Linked DNA regions of Homo sapiens: region 2 is linked to region 1. The links are contacts of gene promoters, found by promoter capture Hi-C in human tissues and cell types (Jung and others, 2019). All regions are on one chromosome and are shown on one strand. Each heading gives the region's core, a stretch centred on a gene start or on the middle of the fragment in contact. The rest is flanking DNA. Distances are from core to core; before and after follow the strand shown. Region 1 overlaps ACP6 (acid phosphatase 6, lysophosphatidic). Region 2 holds the start of GPR89B (G protein-coupled receptor 89B).

The links. The method cuts DNA at HindIII sites, captures the fragments that hold promoters and counts their contacts. A contact is called where the count stands out against the background at its distance.
Region 2: a contact is called between the fragment with the promoter of GPR89B here and a fragment that was not itself captured in region 1, in 5 of the 25 tissues and cell types used here (dorsolateral prefrontal cortex, liver, lymphoblastoid cells and 2 more).

Annotation. Positions count from the first base shown.
Region 1 is chr1:147,659,560-147,665,351 of GRCh38, reverse strand. ACP6 (acid phosphatase 6, lysophosphatidic) reads left to right here. Exons shown (of 10, transcript NM_016361.5): 2 at 5,577-5,705. Among named protein-coding and RNA genes, the nearest start is that of ACP6, 8.1 kb to the left of the region's middle. The HindIII fragment of the contact is 6,095 bases long and covers 1-5,173 here.
Region 2 is chr1:147,927,170-147,932,961 of GRCh38, reverse strand. It overlaps GPR89B (G protein-coupled receptor 89B), which reads right to left and starts at 4,542. Exons shown (of 14, transcript NM_016334.5): 1 at 4,384-4,542. The coding sequence starts at 4,425. LOC105371229 (a long non-coding RNA gene) reads left to right here and starts at 4,644. Exons shown (of 3, transcript XR_922074.4): 1 at 4,644-5,792. The HindIII fragment of the contact is 5,422 bases long and covers 3,034-5,792 here.

The DNA of each region.
Region 1 (5,792 bases), core at 877-3,376:
ATGTCTTACATCTACCTCCTCTATTGTTAACTGGCTTAGATGAGGCCTTAGGCTCTCATGTGGACTATTGCTAACATCTCAAAATGGGCTTTTCTGCATCTAGTCTTCCCATTCCAATTGTGATGTATGCTGCCAGGTTTCAGATTTATTCTGTGGAGCCTGTGGGCTAAGAGGATGTTGAGCGGCTGGGGCTGTGGGATTCCCTCCTACTTCAACTAGAGAAATTCGAGTTTTTGCCTTTATACATACAAATCTAAAGTTAAACTTTATGTGGTATTTTCTGATTTAAAAATTGGAAAACCATTCCCAGGTTGAGGCAAACCAAACCACTTCTTTGCCATACACATTCTTTACCATCTCTGCTTTGCGCAAGCTTTCTAGTTATTTTTGGAATTCTGAATGTCACCCTTTATAAGTACAGGTATTTGCTTGTCTAAATACTATTCATTTAAAATGCTATTCCCTCAATGAAACTTCTCCTGAATCCCCAGCCAGAAGAGAAGGTCTGTCTTGCCTTTGAACTGCTATGGCCTTCATATGGTTTCTTGCAGCACATGTCAGCTTCTATTATGGTATTGCTGTCATTTACATTCACAGCTGGCCTTTTTTCTTTACTAACTTGAACACCCAGGAAAGGCAGGGTCAAGTTTTCTCAAGATGGGTATCTTCCACAGGAGCTGGCAAATTGTTGGAGCTATTAATTGTACCTACTGTGTGTGAGGCCCTTTGCTGGGAAACAGAAGTCAATAGATGACCGAGTCTCTGTTCTCAGGAAGCCAGGACAGACCAGTAAAGGAGCTCGTTTAATACACTTTGGTAAAGGCTACTAAAGAGAGCCACTGAAGCTACTGTGAAAGCATAAGGCCATGACCAAGGTTTCTGGGAACACTTAAGCTAAGTCTTAAGGAATGAACAAAAGTCTTTCTAAATGAATGAGGAGAGAAAATTCCAGGCATAAGAAACATGATACTGAAAGGCCATGAAATATGAGAAAGGAAAGGAAGTTGCGTGGCTAGTGAGTAAGTATGTAGAATAGGGAAGAAGTGGTAAGGGGGCTGCTAGAGAGGAGGTGGGGCCACATGAGCCATGAACCCTCGAAGGGTTTTTTTTATCCAGAGGGGTTAGAGGGTCAGAAAGAGGGAGCAGTGATTAACTGTGAAAGAAGGAAGAAGGCCTCTCTGTGAACACCTGGTCCTCTGATGTGTCAGAAGGAGGTTCAGGTGTTGGAGACCAGGTGCCAGTGGGACTGACACATGCCTTTGGGAAGAATGGAGGGCTCCCTAGATGCCAAGAGAATCTGAGGCTCCCAGTACCATTCTCCTGGGATAGTTCGGGGAGGGTAGAAGATAAATATGACGATATGTGACATAGTAGGTTTCCAAATGTTAGTTTTAAAACTAAACAAAGTAGTAGGAAATTGAGTTAAATTTTTTTTGTTATCAATGTTATAGGAATTCAGATTTAAAAGATAACCATCAAAAGCCAGAGTGGTCAGTGATAGGGAAGTAAGACTTGAGCTATCCTTGAACATTGAAGACAAGGTGATGGGCAGATAGGAACAGGAGTCCCTCCAAGCAAGAGAAGCAAGCTGGAAGAAGATGCAGAAACAGTGGGCAGGTTCTAGGTTGGAGGGGAGGAAAGAGGCAGTGAAGCTGAGTACAGGGGCTGGACAAAGGGGGTAGAAGTCCTTTTTTAAAATTTTTTTAAGAGATGGGGTCTTGCTGTGTTGCCCAGGCTGATCTTGAACTCCTGGCCTCAAGTGATGCTCCCACCTCAGCCTCCCAAAGTGCTAGGATTACAGGTATGAGCCACTGCACTCAGCCACGATGTAGAAGTTCTTGAAGGACAGATGCTTTCCTCTGAGACATTAGGAAAAAGTTACTGATATGATGACACTGGCTTAGCAAGATTAATTAGGTGATTTTGAAACATACAATGCATTATTATTTATTGTAGTCACCATCCTGTACAATAGATCACTAAAGCTTATTCTTCCTGTGTAACTGAAATTTTGTACCCATTGATAAAAATCTCTCTTTCCCCATTTACTGCACCCCCCCACCTCTGATAACCATCACTCTACTCTCTAATTCTGTGACTTTGACTTCTTTAGATTCTACACAGACAAGCATACCTTGAAGATATTGCAGATTCAGGTCTAGACCACCACAATAAAGCAAATATCGCAATAAAGTGAGACCCACAGTTGTTTTTTGTTTCCCAGTGCATATAAAAGTTGTGTTTACACTCTTCTGTATCCTATCATGCAATAGCATGTCTAAAAATGTACATACCTTAATTTAAAAATGTTTTATTCCTAAAAAGTGCTAGTGATTACCTGAGCCTTCAGTGAGTCATGATCTTTTTGCCAGTGGAGGGTCTTGCCTTGATGTTGATGGCTGCTGACTGATCAGGGTAGTAGTTGCTAAAGGTTGGGGTGGCTGTGGCAATTTCTAAAAATAAGACAACAGTAAAGTTTGCCACATTGATAGACTCTTCCTTTCATGAAAGATTTCTCTGTAGCTTATGACACAGTTTAATAGCATTTTACCCACAATAGAACATCTTTTGAAATTGGAGTCAATCTTCTCAAACTCTGCCACTGCTTTATCAATTAAGTTTATGTAATAAATCCATTGTTGTAATTTCAACAGTGTTCACACTATCTTCACCAGGACTAGATTCCCTCTCAAGGAACCACTTCTTTGTAGTAACTTCTCATGCATTCAAGTTTTATCATGAGATTGCAGCAATTCAGTCAGAACTTAAGGTTCCACATCTAATTCTAGTTCTCTTGCTATTTCCATCACATCTGCAGTTACTTCTTCCACGGAAGCCTGAATCTTCAAAGTCATCCATGAGGGTTGGAGTCAAATCTTCCAAACTTCGCTTAATGTTGCTATTTTGACCTCCTCCTTATAAATGTTCTTAATGACATCTAGAATGGTGAATTCTTTCCATAAGGTTTTCAATTTACTTTGCCCAGATTCATCAGAGGAATCACTATCTAGGGCAACAATAGCCTTACAAAATGTATTTCTTAAATAATAAAGACTTGAAAGTCAAAATTACTCCTTGGGCCATGGGCTGCAGAAAGGACATTGTGTTAGCAGGCACAAAAACAATATTAATTTTGTACATCTCCATTAGCGCCTTTGGGTGACTAGGTGCATTGTCAATGAGCAGTAATATTTGGAAAGGAATCAATTTTTTCTTTTGAGCAGTAGGTCTCAACAGTGGGCTTAAAATATTAAGTAGACCATGCTGTAAACAGATGTCCTGCCATGCAGGCTTTGTTGTTCCATTTATACAGCACAGTCAGAGTACATTTAGCATAATTCTTAAGGGCTGTAGGATTTGCAGAATAGTAAATGAGCCTTGGCTTCACCTTAAGGAAACCAGCTGCATTAATCCCTAATGAGAATCAGCCTGTCCTTTGAAGCTTTGAAGCCAGGCATTGACTTTCTCTCTAGCTATGAAAGTCTTAGCTGGGATCTTCTTCCTATATAGGCTGTTTCTTCTGCATTGAATATCTCCATGTTATCAATAAGGTTGTTTCACTTTCTCATTGTTTGTGTGTTCACCAGAGTAGTACTTTTAATTTCCTCCAAGAACTTTTCCTTTGCATTCATAACTTGGCTGTTTGGTGCAAGAGGCATAGGTTTTGGCTTATCTTAGCTTTCTACATGCCTTCCTTACTAAGCTTAATCATTTCTAGCTTTGGATTTAAAGTGAGAAACTTGAAACTTTTCCTTTCACTTAACACTTAGAGGCCATTGTAGGGTTATTAACTGGACTAATTTTAATATTGTTGTGTCTCAGGAAATAAGGAGGCTCAAGGAGAGGGAGAGAGATGGGGGAAATACCAGTCAGCAGAGCACTCAGAAAACACACAACATTTATTGATTAAGTTTGGCATCTTATATGGGGGCGGTTTGTGGCGCTCCCAAATAGTTAAAATAGTAACATCAAAGATCACAGAGTTCAGGATCAGCCTGGGAAACATGGCAAAACCCTGTCTCTCAAAAAAAAAAAATTAGCTGGGCATGATGGTATATGCCTGTAGTCCCAGCTGCTCGGGAGGCTGAGGTGAGAGGATGAGCCAAGGTAATGCCACTGCACTCCAGGAGGCAGACGTTTCAGTGAGCCAAGATCATGCCACTGTACTCCAGCCTGGGCAACAGAGCCAGACCCCATTTCAAAAAGAAAAACAAATCATAAATCATAGATCACCTTGACAGATTTAATAGTAATGAAAAAGTTTGGAATATTATGAGAATTACCAGATTTTACACAGAGACATGAATGAGCACATGCTGTTGGAAAAATGGCACTGATAGACTTGCTCAATGCAGAGTTCTCCAAACCTTCAATTTGTGAAAAATGCAATCTCTGTAAAGAGCAATAAAATGATGTATGCCTATGTTACTAAAAGGTTAACTTTACATATTTTCATCACGTAAAAATGAAAGTATGTGAGCTGATGGATTTTGTTTACATTAGTTAATCATATATCAAATGTAAATATATATGAAAACATCACATTGTACTCCATAAATATATACAATATACAATTATTTGTCAATTAAAAATAAAACAAAATATTTAAATGCAATAAAAATATTTTTTCCAAAAAGATTAATTAGTTGGCTATGGATAGATGGATTGTGCAGGTGAAAGGGAGGAGTTTGTCACAGGCACTAATAAGGTTTACATTCTACAATAAGATAATGGAAGGACCATTGGGAGGGACTTTTCTTCTAGGCAGTGATCAACAGGGCTTGGTGTGGGGATAGTGGATCCACAGGGAGCCAAAGGTTTGAGGTTTGGGGCCTAGGAGAACTGTGGTAACATTGAGAGGGACATAGTAGATTGGGAAGGGGAACTGGTCTATGGGATTAGACTTGTTTTTAAAATTGAAGTATTCACATCTGACTCAATGAGTGTCAGAGTTTTATGAACAGTTGGAGCTATGAGACCTGTGGCCACTAGTGATGTTTTGAAATCATTACAGCACAGTTGGGGCAGGAGCCAGATTGCAAGGAATAATGGAAGATGATGAAAAAGCAACATCTTCTGAGATGGCAGCTGCTTGTTTCACGAATTGCATGAAAGGAGGAAAAAAGTATATTAGTTACAAGGGACATTAAGTAGAATCCTTAAGCTGGGATAGGGCATATAAACCTCCAGATTAATTCCTTATAAATTCTTACATATGGTCACTGACATCTTATTTCTTTCATCCATCTATTCGTTCATTCACCACGTATCCGCATGCCAGGCATTCTGGTCACTTCTCCCCTTTACTTCAGTGTGGGCTAAGTGCCAGAGCAGCCCCTTAGCAGTCATTACTAGTGTAGCAATAACAGGACATAGGCTAAGGACACCTGGAATAATAAATCACCATCTTTTCTTCCCTTAATTTTAGCTAACATTTCTTTCCTTCCATCCCATAGGAAGGTTGCAGGCCTAGTGTCAGTGATTCCAGCCATGTGTTCTGAGTGCTTGAGATGTTAATGCTATACATTTCAAGAACCATTTTTAAACAATGTGGTGTGTTTTTTTTGTACTAACAGGTAGAGTGGAACCCCCAGCTATTAGAGGTCCCACCCCAAACTCAGTTTGATTACACAGTCACCAATCTAGCTGGTGGTCCGAAACCATATTCTCCTTACGACTCTCAATACCATGAGACCACCCTGAAGGTGAGCAATGCTTCCTTGCTCTGGGGAGCCCCACTGCAAAGGTTGGGTTGTTTTCTCTGGGCTGAGTTCAGCAGGCTGTCAGGTGTT
Region 2 (5,792 bases), core at 3,293-5,792, 270 kb before region 1:
AAGATGAGGTTTAGAGAAGTTAATCAATTTATAGTAAGTGTCAGAATCAAGATTGAACTCAAGCTTGTTTGACTCCAAAATCTGTGCTTTTTTTTAAATATTATTTTTTCAGCTCTTATTGAGTCTGTCTGTTTAGAAATTCTGTGCTTTTAACCACTTCAAAATACGCTACTCTAAGATCAAAGGTAGGTAGAATGGCTTTAAACCGGAGTAGGGGAACCCCGTTTTCTGAAATGGGAGGAAAGGAGGTAAGAATGGTTGTGAACACAGATAACCTTTTAGATTAAAATGCAGAAAGTATTCACAGTAGGAGATCATACCTTTTGGCTTCACTTTTGTTGAGTAAGTACGAGGCATGGTTATCTGCTAAGAGTAAGAGAGGTGAGTTAGAAAAGGGAGCTTTGAGGAGAGTGACAAAGATTCAGAGAAACTTTGAGGGGAATGAAACAAGTAGCTGATTAAGGTCAAGAAAAGGAATAATTCAGTGAGCTGAGGGTTAAACTCCTGGCGTTGGCAAACTACACAGCTATGTGATTTTCTATAGTAGCCTTCAGGCCTCTGTATTAGTAGTAAACAAACTATAGCAGTGATCCAAGTGTGGACTTACATATACATGAAGGTAAACGAACAAGAGGGTTTAAGAAAGTAAGTTGGATCCAAGCATCTAGATCAAGCAGAAAAGGAAAGGGTCAAACAGATTAGGAGAAAATGTCCAGGATATCCTTTGGCTATTATAAATATTTACCGGTGGAGACAGATGTAAATTCAGAGTTTAGAGACCATATTTATATGACTTATGAAGCCACGACTGAAGACAGAGAAGTTGGGCAGTTTAGGACTGATGGTGGTATGTATAGTGGAAATGGATGATTAAAAAAAAAAATCACCAAGATTGCTATGAAATGGAAGAGAAAACAAGCAAAAATTTTAAGTTTATATGGTGGGGAGGGGAATGGAAGAAAAGAGAAACAGATATATACCTTTAATATTTCATTGTGGCCTCCTTTCACATTGACAAAGAAAGCTTAAAAAGACTTTCAGAACAAAATTATGTCCTTTGCAGCAACACAGATGCAGCTAGAGGCCATCATCCTAAGCAAATTAACCCAAGAACAGAAAACCAAATACCACATGTTCTCACTTCTAAGTGGGAGCTAAATATTGGGTACTCACCAACATAAAGATGGCAAAAACAGAAACTGGAGACTACTTGGGGGCAGGGGAGGGGAGAAGGGGGAAGGGTTGAAAAACTAATTATTGAGTACTACGCTCAGTACCTGGGTGACCGGATCATTTGTACCCCAAACCTCAGCTCCCACAATATACCCAGCACAAGTACCAAATCTAAAATAAAATAAAAGTTGAAAAAAAAAAAAGACTTAAACTACACACACACACACAAGTAGCTGGAGAATTCATTTACATCCAAGTAAACACAAATTCTGGCAAGATTATAGAGGATCCAAAAAGAAAGCAGAAGCAAAATGCAATTTCAAATAGCTTTGCAAATAAAATGGAAGGCGTATAGCTTCTTATTAAAAATGAGACTTAATACTTTCAGAATTGTACAGAGTCTTGACCTTAGGACTTAAGAGTGTACTCTGGAACTGATAAGTCTTATGACGGTATAGAGGGCTTAAAACATGAGTTAGTTAACAGTTGCTTTTTAAAAAGTGACTTCTGGGTTGAAAATTAGCTACTGTTAAAAAAAAAAAGATGGCCATCAGCAGGACAGTTATTAAAGAATTAACTATAAAAGACACCTTTCTTGGATCATTTATTCACCCTTTTAATCATTTAACAAATATTTATTAGTGCCTAATATGTGCCAGGTCCAAGGGATAGAATGGCAAATGAGAGCATGAATGCTACTCTCAAGGAGTTTATAATCTATGGAGGAGATAAACAAGTAATTACAAAACAATGTGGTAGTGTTGTTACAGGGGAAGTAGGTGAAGGGTACTATGGCAGTAGGTATAGGGACATCTAGTCCAGTCTAGGGGAAGCTTCTTGGGTGTTCAACTTGAGATCTGAAGGCTTAAAGGGGAGGGATATGAGGAAAAGGCCCAGAAAGAGAAAACACACTGTGTGGAAATCTGGAGGCACCATAGCATGGCCAGGTTAGGGAACTAAAAGAAGTTCAGGAAGTCTAAAGAATAAATTGGAGCCACAGCTGAAGAGAGAAGAGCCAGGGTCCCATCAATAAGGGACCTGAAAAGCCATGTAAAGGAGTTTGAACTTCATCCTGTGCCGTGGTGAGCAAGATTCAATACGTGACCTCTGATTTCAGATTTCATTTCAAATAAACCTTTCAGTTAATACAAAACAGAAAAAATGAGCAGGGAGGGGCGCAGGGGGCAATGGTGGTGTTTCCAAGGTAACCACACCTCTCTAGAGAGGTGCTTTTTATTAAACAAATATTCACTACAACTCTACTATGTGCCTGCAACTGATCTAGATGCTGGTGAATACAGGAGAGAACAAGACAGACAGTATCTTGGACTTCATGGACAGATAACAAACACATGAATATACAAATGAACCATAGTAATAAATGCCAAGAAGATAATAAAACATGGAAATGAGGAAGAAGGCAGCCGAAATGGAAAGCTACTTTGGTTGTGGGCAGGGTGTCAGGTAAAACCTTCCTAAAGCGACATTTTTATTAATACCGAAAGGATGATAAAGTAGCCACATAAATATCTGAACAGAGAACATTCCATGCAAAGGAATCTTTGGGTCTTTCTTCCACATTTGTAAAAACCAGGTTTAACAATTAATTACTGCATATGGATACATGTGTGAAGTGAAAGTCTATGATTATAAGGCATACAAAATTAGAAAGCCACTTCCTTGGTTCAACGTATCAATTATATCCATGCTAAAAATCGTAGAGGCTGCAATGCAAAGCCAATTTTCTACTGACATTCTTATCTTTATTCTAAGTGAAAAGAAAAGCTAATTAAATATTGTTATTTTTCTTAAATTGGTACTAAGGCTAAAAATAATCCTGAGTTGTCACCAAGGGCACTGGGTAGTCTTAGAAAGGTTTTAAGCAGAAGAGTTACATGTCTAGGTTTTTTTACATTAATACATTTGAATACTATGCAGCCAATAAAAACAATACTTATGAAAACTATAGAAAAGGTGGTAAATTTTAAAAATGAAAAACTATTGCATTAGAGCGGTAGGATTATGGATGGCTTTTCCTTCTTTCTTATTTTCTTAAATATTGTAAACAAGTTTTTGAAGAGAAAAGGACAATGCTCCGCTCTACGGAGACGAGTATTAGGATGAAGCAATACAAAAACTGAATCAAAGAACACAAATTTAGTTCACTTTAAGCCCCCAAAGGTAACTGTTTCTGTTATTTGCCGTTTGAGAGAAAGAACAAGCAAAAACAAACACACACACACAAAATCTTTATTGGAAAGATGAGGGGAAGAAGGTCAACAGGCAGTCTGAGCTTCACAAATATTGGCCAACAATTATTTATTGAATGCCTGCATTTGGAAGTGGGGATACAGCTATGAACAAGGCAGGATCTCAAAAAACAAAATCAGAAACACAGACATAAATGATGCCAGTGCTATGATGAATGCTAGGAAGAAACAATAATTAACAATAGATTACATGGTAAAAGCAAGAGGCTAACTAGACGAAACTTCTATTGAGCAGAGACAGTGTCTTACATGTTTTTACGCTCAGAGCTTTATATAATGGTCGATAAATGTTTGTTGACTGTACAAACAAATGAAGGTGGCCAATGGAGAAGAAATGAGGGTCAGAAAAACATCCGGAAAAGGTGGGTAACTAAGCAGAGGATAAAGGACGAGGTGTCAGTGCAAAAACGAAACCTTATACTTTCAAGCATAGGTATTACCTTATACTGATACTTTGAAGCAGCAAATTTCTCCACACCCGGATTCAGGATTTGACATCTAACAGCAAAGCCTGCACTGACGTGTCCTCAGTATCCAGTATTGGCGCGTCGCACACCGCGCGCCCAGAACCACACAGGCTTCCCCAGTCCAGGATCAGTTGGCGCAGCCCGGAAGCTTCGAGGAGCTCCTAGAACCGCCGCCTTAGCTGGCGGCGCCGGCTCTTAGCCTGGAGGTCGGCGGACCGCTTCCAAAAGTGGACCGAAATTCCGGGGATGGATGCCGGGTGGGGACGCGGACGGCCGCAGGCCAGCCTCCTGACAGCCGGGGCTGAGGGAACCGGCCGCAGCAAATCGCACACCCTCTCTGTGTGCCAGAGTGACTGGCGCAGGCCGCGTAAGAGAGGAGCGAGACCCCGGACCAGCCCGCACCGCGGAGGACCGGAGAGGGCGATTCGGTGAAGGGAGGCGGACGGGTGTCGGGGCGGGAGGCGGTGACTCACCTGGGAGGTAATCATGATGCTGGAGTCGATCAGGAAACTCATGGCGAAGTGTAAGGAAGGCTCCTGCCTCCACTTCCCACTCCCGGAGGCCACAGCACGCTGGGGCCACAGGCCCCCTCACACGGTCTGCCTTCTCCCAGGTGCTGCAGCCGGGACTGCGGCTCTCCAGCCCGACGCCGTCAAGCTGCGCCCCAGTCAGCCAATCAGCGGCTACATCCACAGCCCCGCCTCGGGCTCGGGGTGGGTGGGGCGGACGCTAGGCTTCCGCCGCGGAAGCCCCAGGGGCGGGGCTTATTAGGGGCGGTGCTAAAAGCAGCAATGCAAGGTAGCGTTAACGTTTCTGAGGCTGAAGGAGGTAGGGCCTGAGAGCTAAGTGGTAATTCTGTTTTGTAATGATCCTAAGATAATAATGGTAATTATAGTAAGTCGGGCATTGTGTCCTAAATGTTATAACTTTTACTTGACTCGGCAAATATGACTGTACAAAGTGAGGGAAGACTGGAAAGTCAGATGAGATATGAACAAATATAACTAACCAAATACATTTCTGTGACAACAATGAAAAGCACACTGTCTGTAGCAATTTAGTGATAATATTGTACTGCATATCAGTCAGGCCACAGGTGGAGTACTGCACTCCATGTACCACACTTTGAAGAGATTTTACAGGCCGGGCCGGCTCACACCTGTAATCCCAGCACCTGGGGAGACCAAGGCGGGCGGATCACCTGAGGTCGCAAGTTCAAAACCAGCCTGACAAGCATGGAGAAACCCTGTCTCTACTAAAAATACAAAATTAGCCGGGCGTGGTGGTGCATGCCTGTAATCCCAACTACTAGGGAGGCTGAGGCAGGAGAATCGCTTGAACCCGGGAGGGGAGGTTGCGGTGAGCCGAGATCGCGCCATTGCACTCCAGCCTGGGCAACAAGAGCGAAACTCCATCTCAAAAAAAAAAAAAGAAAAGAAAAAAGAAGAGAGAGATTCTACAGAGACATATTGGAGCTCGCTCAAATGTGAGCCACCAGATAAGGGCTGCTGGAAGGAGGCGAAGAAAGATGACTCAGAACATGACATCTGTCTTCATGTGAAAGAATGGGTAGAACTGATGTGGCACTACGAATTATCTGTAGGGCAAAGGACTGGAAGTTAATTGAAGATAGATTTTAATTCAAAACAAGGATCAGTTCTTTAAGAGTCTGAAGAAGGGTTATTTTAGGAAGTAGCTGCCTCTGCCCCCTTCCCACCTGTTGCAGTGGATCAAATATACACTGAATCACTACCTCATTCATTCAACACTCATTTCATGAAGGCTTAACGCATTGCTGTGGGGCTTACTCTGCCGCCGACCTGGGGCCTAGCTAGGCTTTGTAGTCTATATAGTCTCATAGTCCTGCAAACTGGCTCCAGCC